Regions from separate parts of the Homo sapiens genome. Here region 2 is linked to region 1. The links are contacts of gene promoters, found by promoter capture Hi-C in blood cells and fetal thymus (Javierre and others, 2016). All regions are on one chromosome and are shown on one strand. The core of a region is centred on a gene start or on the middle of the fragment in contact, and the rest is flanking DNA. Distances in the headings are between cores, read along the strand shown.

Evidence for each region. The method cuts DNA at HindIII sites, captures the fragments that hold promoters and counts their contacts. A CHiCAGO score of 5 or more calls a contact.
Region 2: a contact is called between the fragment with the promoter of PPP1R9B here and a fragment that was not itself captured in region 1, in 2 of 17 cell types (megakaryocytes and endothelial precursors). The highest score is 9.9, in megakaryocytes.

The regions. Positions count from the first base shown.
Region 1 is chr17:50,109,709-50,112,470 of GRCh38, forward strand. It overlaps PDK2 (pyruvate dehydrogenase kinase 2), which reads left to right. Exons shown (of 11, transcript NM_002611.5): 11 at 249-2,444. The coding sequence ends at 389. SAMD14 (sterile alpha motif domain containing 14) reads right to left here. Exons shown (of 10, transcript NM_001257359.2): 10 at 332-2,762. Among named protein-coding and RNA genes, the nearest start is that of PDK2-AS1, 8.7 kb to the left of the region's middle. RefSeq lists an enhancer at 2,089-2,762. The HindIII fragment of the contact is 8,208 bases long and covers 1-2,762 here.
Region 2 is chr17:50,149,358-50,152,119 of GRCh38, forward strand. PPP1R9B (protein phosphatase 1 regulatory subunit 9B) reads right to left here and starts at 1,320. Exons shown (of 10, transcript NM_032595.5): 1 at 1-1,320. The coding sequence starts at 1,156. All of the region lies in intron 1 of LOC124904025 (a long non-coding RNA gene), which reads left to right. RefSeq lists silencers at 672-781, 1,431-1,520, 1,591-1,680 and an enhancer at 1,691-1,985. The HindIII fragment of the contact is 4,765 bases long and covers 1-2,762 here.

The DNA of each region.
Region 1 (2,762 bases), core at 83-2,582:
CTGAGGCCCGGAGTCCGTGACTTGCTCAGGGTCACACAGCCCAGCCTCCTCCCCCTCCCTCTCCCTCCCTTAGAGGGAGCTGCTTGCTTGAATGGGCAGGAGCGGGACACAGGAGGGACCACCCTTTTGTGGTCTTTCCAGGCCCCCGTGTCTGGCAGCTGGGCTGCCGCTGAGCTGGGGTGGGGTGGTCTGCTGAGGAGTGGACAAGGCACAGGGAGGTGGGAGGGGCTGACCCTGACACTCCCCAGGCCCTGTCCACGGACTCGGTGGAGCGCCTGCCTGTCTACAACAAGTCAGCCTGGCGCCACTACCAGACCATCCAGGAGGCCGGCGACTGGTGTGTGCCCAGCACGGAGCCCAAGAACACGTCCACGTACCGCGTCAGCTAAGGGCCGCCGTGCATCTGCACCTGAGAGGACGGACTGCCGCCTCTGGGTCCCCCCACCGTGGTGCCCCTCACCATCCTCCTGGGGGAGCAGGGGGTGGGTTCTCCCTGATGACCAGGTTCTGTCTCTATGGAAGTCACTGCGGTGATAGGTCTGTGATGGTCCCTAAGTGCCAGTCCATCTCTGTGGAGACCCCTCGGTGGCCTCCCTATCTCTGTGGGCGATGCCTGAGGGTTAGGGATGTCTCCACCCTGATGGGGTGTCCCAGAGACATTTTCCCATGGCAGTCCTCCTCTCTGAGACCAGGGCTGTCACTTTTCTGCCAGGGGTACTGGGTCCCCCTCAGCACCCTCCACAGCACAGGCCTTCCAAGTGGATGTCCCGTTGCCTTATTCCCCCAGCCCACAAAGGCACCCTGGCCTTGGCCTGCTGAAGTGTTAGGAAGAGGGTGGGTGCCCTCCAGACCTGGGGACTGAGTGGGGAAAGGAGTTACACCCGTGAGTGGGGAATGAGGCTGGTCCTGCAGCCTCTCCCTCCGCTCAGGGCTTGAAGGTCGGTGGCGGAGGGGGTGGCTCTCACAGGGCCCAACTCTAAAGTGGAAGAACCTTGTTAGACCGAGAGCTTGCCATCCAGCCAAGCTGCTCGAGGCCCTGCAGTGGCCTTGGCAATGTCTGTGCCACCTCCTGAGCCCTCCCAGCATGTCCTCACATGCTCATGCCCACCCGCTCCTCCACAAGCCTAGTCCATCCTGCCTGAGCTCCAGCCCCCAGCCCCCACTGTGCCCAGACATGTGTGCTCAGGGTGGCTTTCTCCCTAGGACCTTCTGTGTATATAGTTAGTTTTATAACCCTGAATGCCCCCACCCTTCCCCTAAGCACACAGGGGTTAAAGCTGTGTGTCCCTCCCAGTGGCTGTGGCAGTGACAGTGACACCCACACCCACAGTAAAGAGGAGACTGAATGAGACTGGCCTGGCTGCATCCCTGGGGGAGGGGACCCACACGTGCGCACGTACACACGCACACTGCGGTGCCCTGTGACCACCACATGACGCACCGGGGACGTCCGGCCCAGCTCAGGACTGTGAGTAAAACACTGGGCAAAGCCATCTGTTCAGAACGCCGGATGGCCCAGCACCTGGTGACAGACCTGTTGTCCCACCATACTCAGGGCCCAGCAGAGTCCGGCCAACCCAACAACTGGAGCAGACAGAAATTCTGGTCACTGGCACATCATAAGGATTTATTGAAATAAATTGAGAACTGCCTCCCCTTCACATGCAGGTGGGCACCCACTATAGCTACTGATGGCTTTAAGGATGTGGGTGCCTTCCAACCTCCCATGGCCCTGCCACCAGGCCCAGATGGTGCCAGTGTCCTCATATCTGTTTCCCTCCGAAGCCCCTCTCCCAGCACAGATAGCAGAGGGGGGATAAGGGCTGAGTCCCAGGTACAGGGTGCTGGCCGTAAGCCACAGCCCCTGGGCAGGAATGAGGGAGCCAGCATGCATTGGTGCCATCTGCCGCTCTGTCTGGGCAGATGGGAGGAGCTGGAGGGGTTTCCAAGCGGGAGCCCCCAGGCCTCATCGGTAACTCTGACCAGTGTCCTGGAAGCGGGACTAGCTGCTGACCAGCGCCACACATGAACACTTCCTCCAAGGACATTTCCTAAAAAGGACACATGCTGTCCCCAGGCTGCTGGTAAACTCCACCCCCATCCAGGGAGCTGGCCCCAGCCCTCAGTGTGGCCCAGGGAAGCAGAGCTTGCACCGCCTGCCAGTTCTGAGCCCACTGATTCCCTGACAATGCCTGGGGCAGATGGGGGAGGGCTGATGAACCTTTCCAATCTCGTAGCTGCCGGGGACCCCCAGGTTTTGCCTCTCTGCCTGGCTGGGGTGAGGGCTGACCAGGTCAGCAGCTCCTAGGCCTTGGCTGGTGGAAGTGGTGTCCTCTGTCCCTATCAGTTCCTGTTTGCTCAGCTCCCAAAGAGGACTTAGGTGCCCTCTGAGGAAGCAGCAGGAAGTGAAGGGAGTCCTGGCTTGGAGAATGGGTCAAAGACCAGGTCTTGAATGGGCCCTGAGAGGCAGACCTGTGTGGTGTCATCTCGCCCCCTGGGACCCACAGGACAGAGGAGGGGAGAGGGAGAAGGGGATGTTCATCCTCCCCTCTTGAGTCCTGGCAAAGACTGCACTCGCCCCAGGCTGCTTTCTCTGCGCTCCTGTTGAGGAGTTTGGCTGGGAGTCTACCCTGAGTGCGACTTGCTGCAGCGCCCACTGGCCTCTTGGGGGAGCAGGACAGAGCTCTCCCACCACACAGCCCCCTGGAAGAGTGGAGAGGAGCCGCTCCCACATGGGCTCCTGCTGAAATGCCCAGCCCAGC
Region 2 (2,762 bases), core at 70-2,569, 40 kb after region 1:
CCTCCTTCTTGGATTCATCTACCTCCTCAGGGGCCACGTCCGGGGCCCGGCCATTGCCCACCCCCCTCTCTGGCGGCGCTACCGCCGCCGCCTCCTTCTCCGGGGCCGCTTGGGCCTTTGGCTCCTCGGGCGCGGGGCTGGCTGCAGTTGCCACGGTGCTGCCATTCTCCAGGGCCGCGTGGACCGTAACCTCGGCCTGGATCACCTCCCCGGGCGCCGACTCGGCCTCCGACTCCCCGCTCTCCTCCACCTCCACCGGCTTAATCTTGCGCACCTCCCGGGGCTTGGGGGGCGGCCGGGCAGGGGCCACTCGGTGCTGCGGGGGCTGCTGCCCTGCGGGGCATCGCTCTTTCTCGGCCGGGGCATCCCCCGACGGGGCGGGCGGCGGCGGCGGCGGGGGCTGGAACACCCGGGACCGCTTGCTGACCAGCTTCGAGTTGACCTGGGGAACCCCTGCGGCCCTGGGGAGCCCGGGCCCGCGGTGGAGGCCGGTCCTCGAGTCGGCCTTCTCGAAGACGGCGCTGAGCTGGCTGACCGTGGGGGACACGGCGTCAGCGTCCAGCTTGTCCAGCGCCTCGGTGCTGCCGTTGAAGCGCACCACGACGTCCAGCTTCCGGTCCTGCAGGCCGGCGCGCTCCTGCCTCAGCAGCCGCCGCGCCGCGGCCTCCTTGTCGCCGCCTGCGGCCGCTGGGGCGCTCCGTTCGAACAGCTTCCGCGTCTCCTGCAGCCGGGACGGCGGGTGCGGCGGCGGCGCAGGCTGCGCGGAGGGCGCGGGCTTGGAGTCGAAGCGGCTCACGCGCTCCGACACGCTGGTGCCCAGCTTCAGCAGGGCGCTGTGGTCCACGTTCTCGTTCAGGCTGCTGGCCCGCGGCAGCGACAGGCGCACGCCGCGCTCGGACGCCCGTGGGGCCTCGGCCAGGCCCGCGCCGCCGCCCGCCTCGCCCGAGGGCCCCGCCGTCGTGCCCATCTGCAGGAACATACTTTTGATGCGGTGGACGTTGGAGCCATATTTCTTGTGGTGGGCCCCCTTGGGTGCCTCGTCGGGCCCGGGCGCGTCGGGCGGCTTCAGCGCCTGGATGCCCGCCTCGTAGGCGCTGCGGTGCGGGGAGGCGCTCCGGAGGGGACCCCCGGGCCCCCGTGGCTCCGTCTTCATCATGGTGGGGGGAGCCGGGTTCGCATGCCCCTGCTCCCCGCTCCCCCGCTTCAACAGGCGGCTGGCCAAGTCGGGACCACCGCCCCCTCCCCCCGATAAAAGAAACCCCGAAGGCCTTTTTTAGGGTCCCCCCAAAACCAAGCTGCCAAAAACAGTTAATCCCGCTTTAAAAAAAAAAATGAAAAAAAAAAAATCTCCAAGCGCCCTGTGTGTGGGTCGCCTCCCCCAATCAAGCTGCCGAAGACAGCCAGCCCCGCTTCAAAAGCCCGAGCGGCCTGGTACGGTCGCCCCCACCCAAATTAGCAAAGCGGCGTCTGGGGCCGGTGGGAGCGCGCGCCCTGCCCGCGAAGCAGCCGCGGTGTCGCCGGCTCACATCGTCCGAGACGGTGTCAGCGGGGCTGGCAGCCCGGGCGTCCCCCAGTCCGGCCGGAGGCCTCGGCTCTCGGGGGGCCCGGCACCCCAACGCCCATGGCTGCTCCGCCGGCCCGGGCCGCTCCGCCGCCGCGCCTCCCTCCCTCCCTCCCTCCCCCCCGTGCCCCGAGCCTCGGTCTTTCTCTGGCTTTGCCCGAGCGGCGGCTGCCGGAGACCGAGCGGCTGCCCTTCTCGCAGCCGCCGCTGGGGGACTGGCACCTCTGGGTCCTAAAGGGATCGGATTTCCGGGGCCGGAGCCTGTGAGCCCTCCCCTTCCCCTCCACCCGAACGGATCCCCTCCCCTCCCCAGCCCTCGCGGAGAGCCTTCCGCTGCCCCCGGACGTTGGCCAGCACTCTTCAACCTGCTTCCATCACAACTTCTGACTGCGGTCACAACCCACAGAACCGCACCTCCATGAAATATTGGGGGGAGGCAGTACATCCACGATGGTCTCAGTGTGAGGGGAGGGGGTTTGTAGGGAGGGGCAGAGGTTCATTCTTCAGTGTCCTCGGAGCTAGCTCTTCGGTGTGCTTCAAGCCTTTAGCATCAGAATCGCTGGGCACTTGGTAAAAATGCAGATTTCTGGGATCTCTCTCGAACCTTGTGAAGGAGAATCTCCGAGGCTGAACCCAGGAATCTGCATTTTAACACTTCACTACAGGCAATCTTTGGCCCCCTTGGAGGTGTGAAACCTTGGTCCAGCGCTGGTGACCTTTCGATGGTGGGGGAGGGGTGGTGAAGAAAGGAGGTGAACCCCGTCATCCAAGTAGCAGGGGATCACCAAAACTGCCGAAGTCTGGAAAGGATGTCCTGTCGCCTGTCTGCTGTGCACCCGTCTTCAGGCCCCTACCCTGGCACTCCTGCCTCTCAAACCGGAAGGAAGGGTTTGGGAGCAGGAATTCGAGAGGCCTGGGGCCAAAGTTTCGCCAGTGAGAGCTCTAACTTGGGTCTCTGATTTAAAGGATCCTGGCCACTGTGTTCCGGTTGGGGTGGGGGGGTGGGGAGGGTGACAGTGACTTACACATCCCCTGTCCTGGCAACCCAGAAAGCTGTTTGATGCCCTCTGCACCCCCCGCATACACAGCTAGGGTGCTGGCGCTGCCTGGGCCCTGGGTGTGAGAGTCCGCCCTCTGGACAGGTCCAGGTGAGCTGGTTCATTCCACACATCCCAGAAACTGGTGAACACAATGGGCCCTA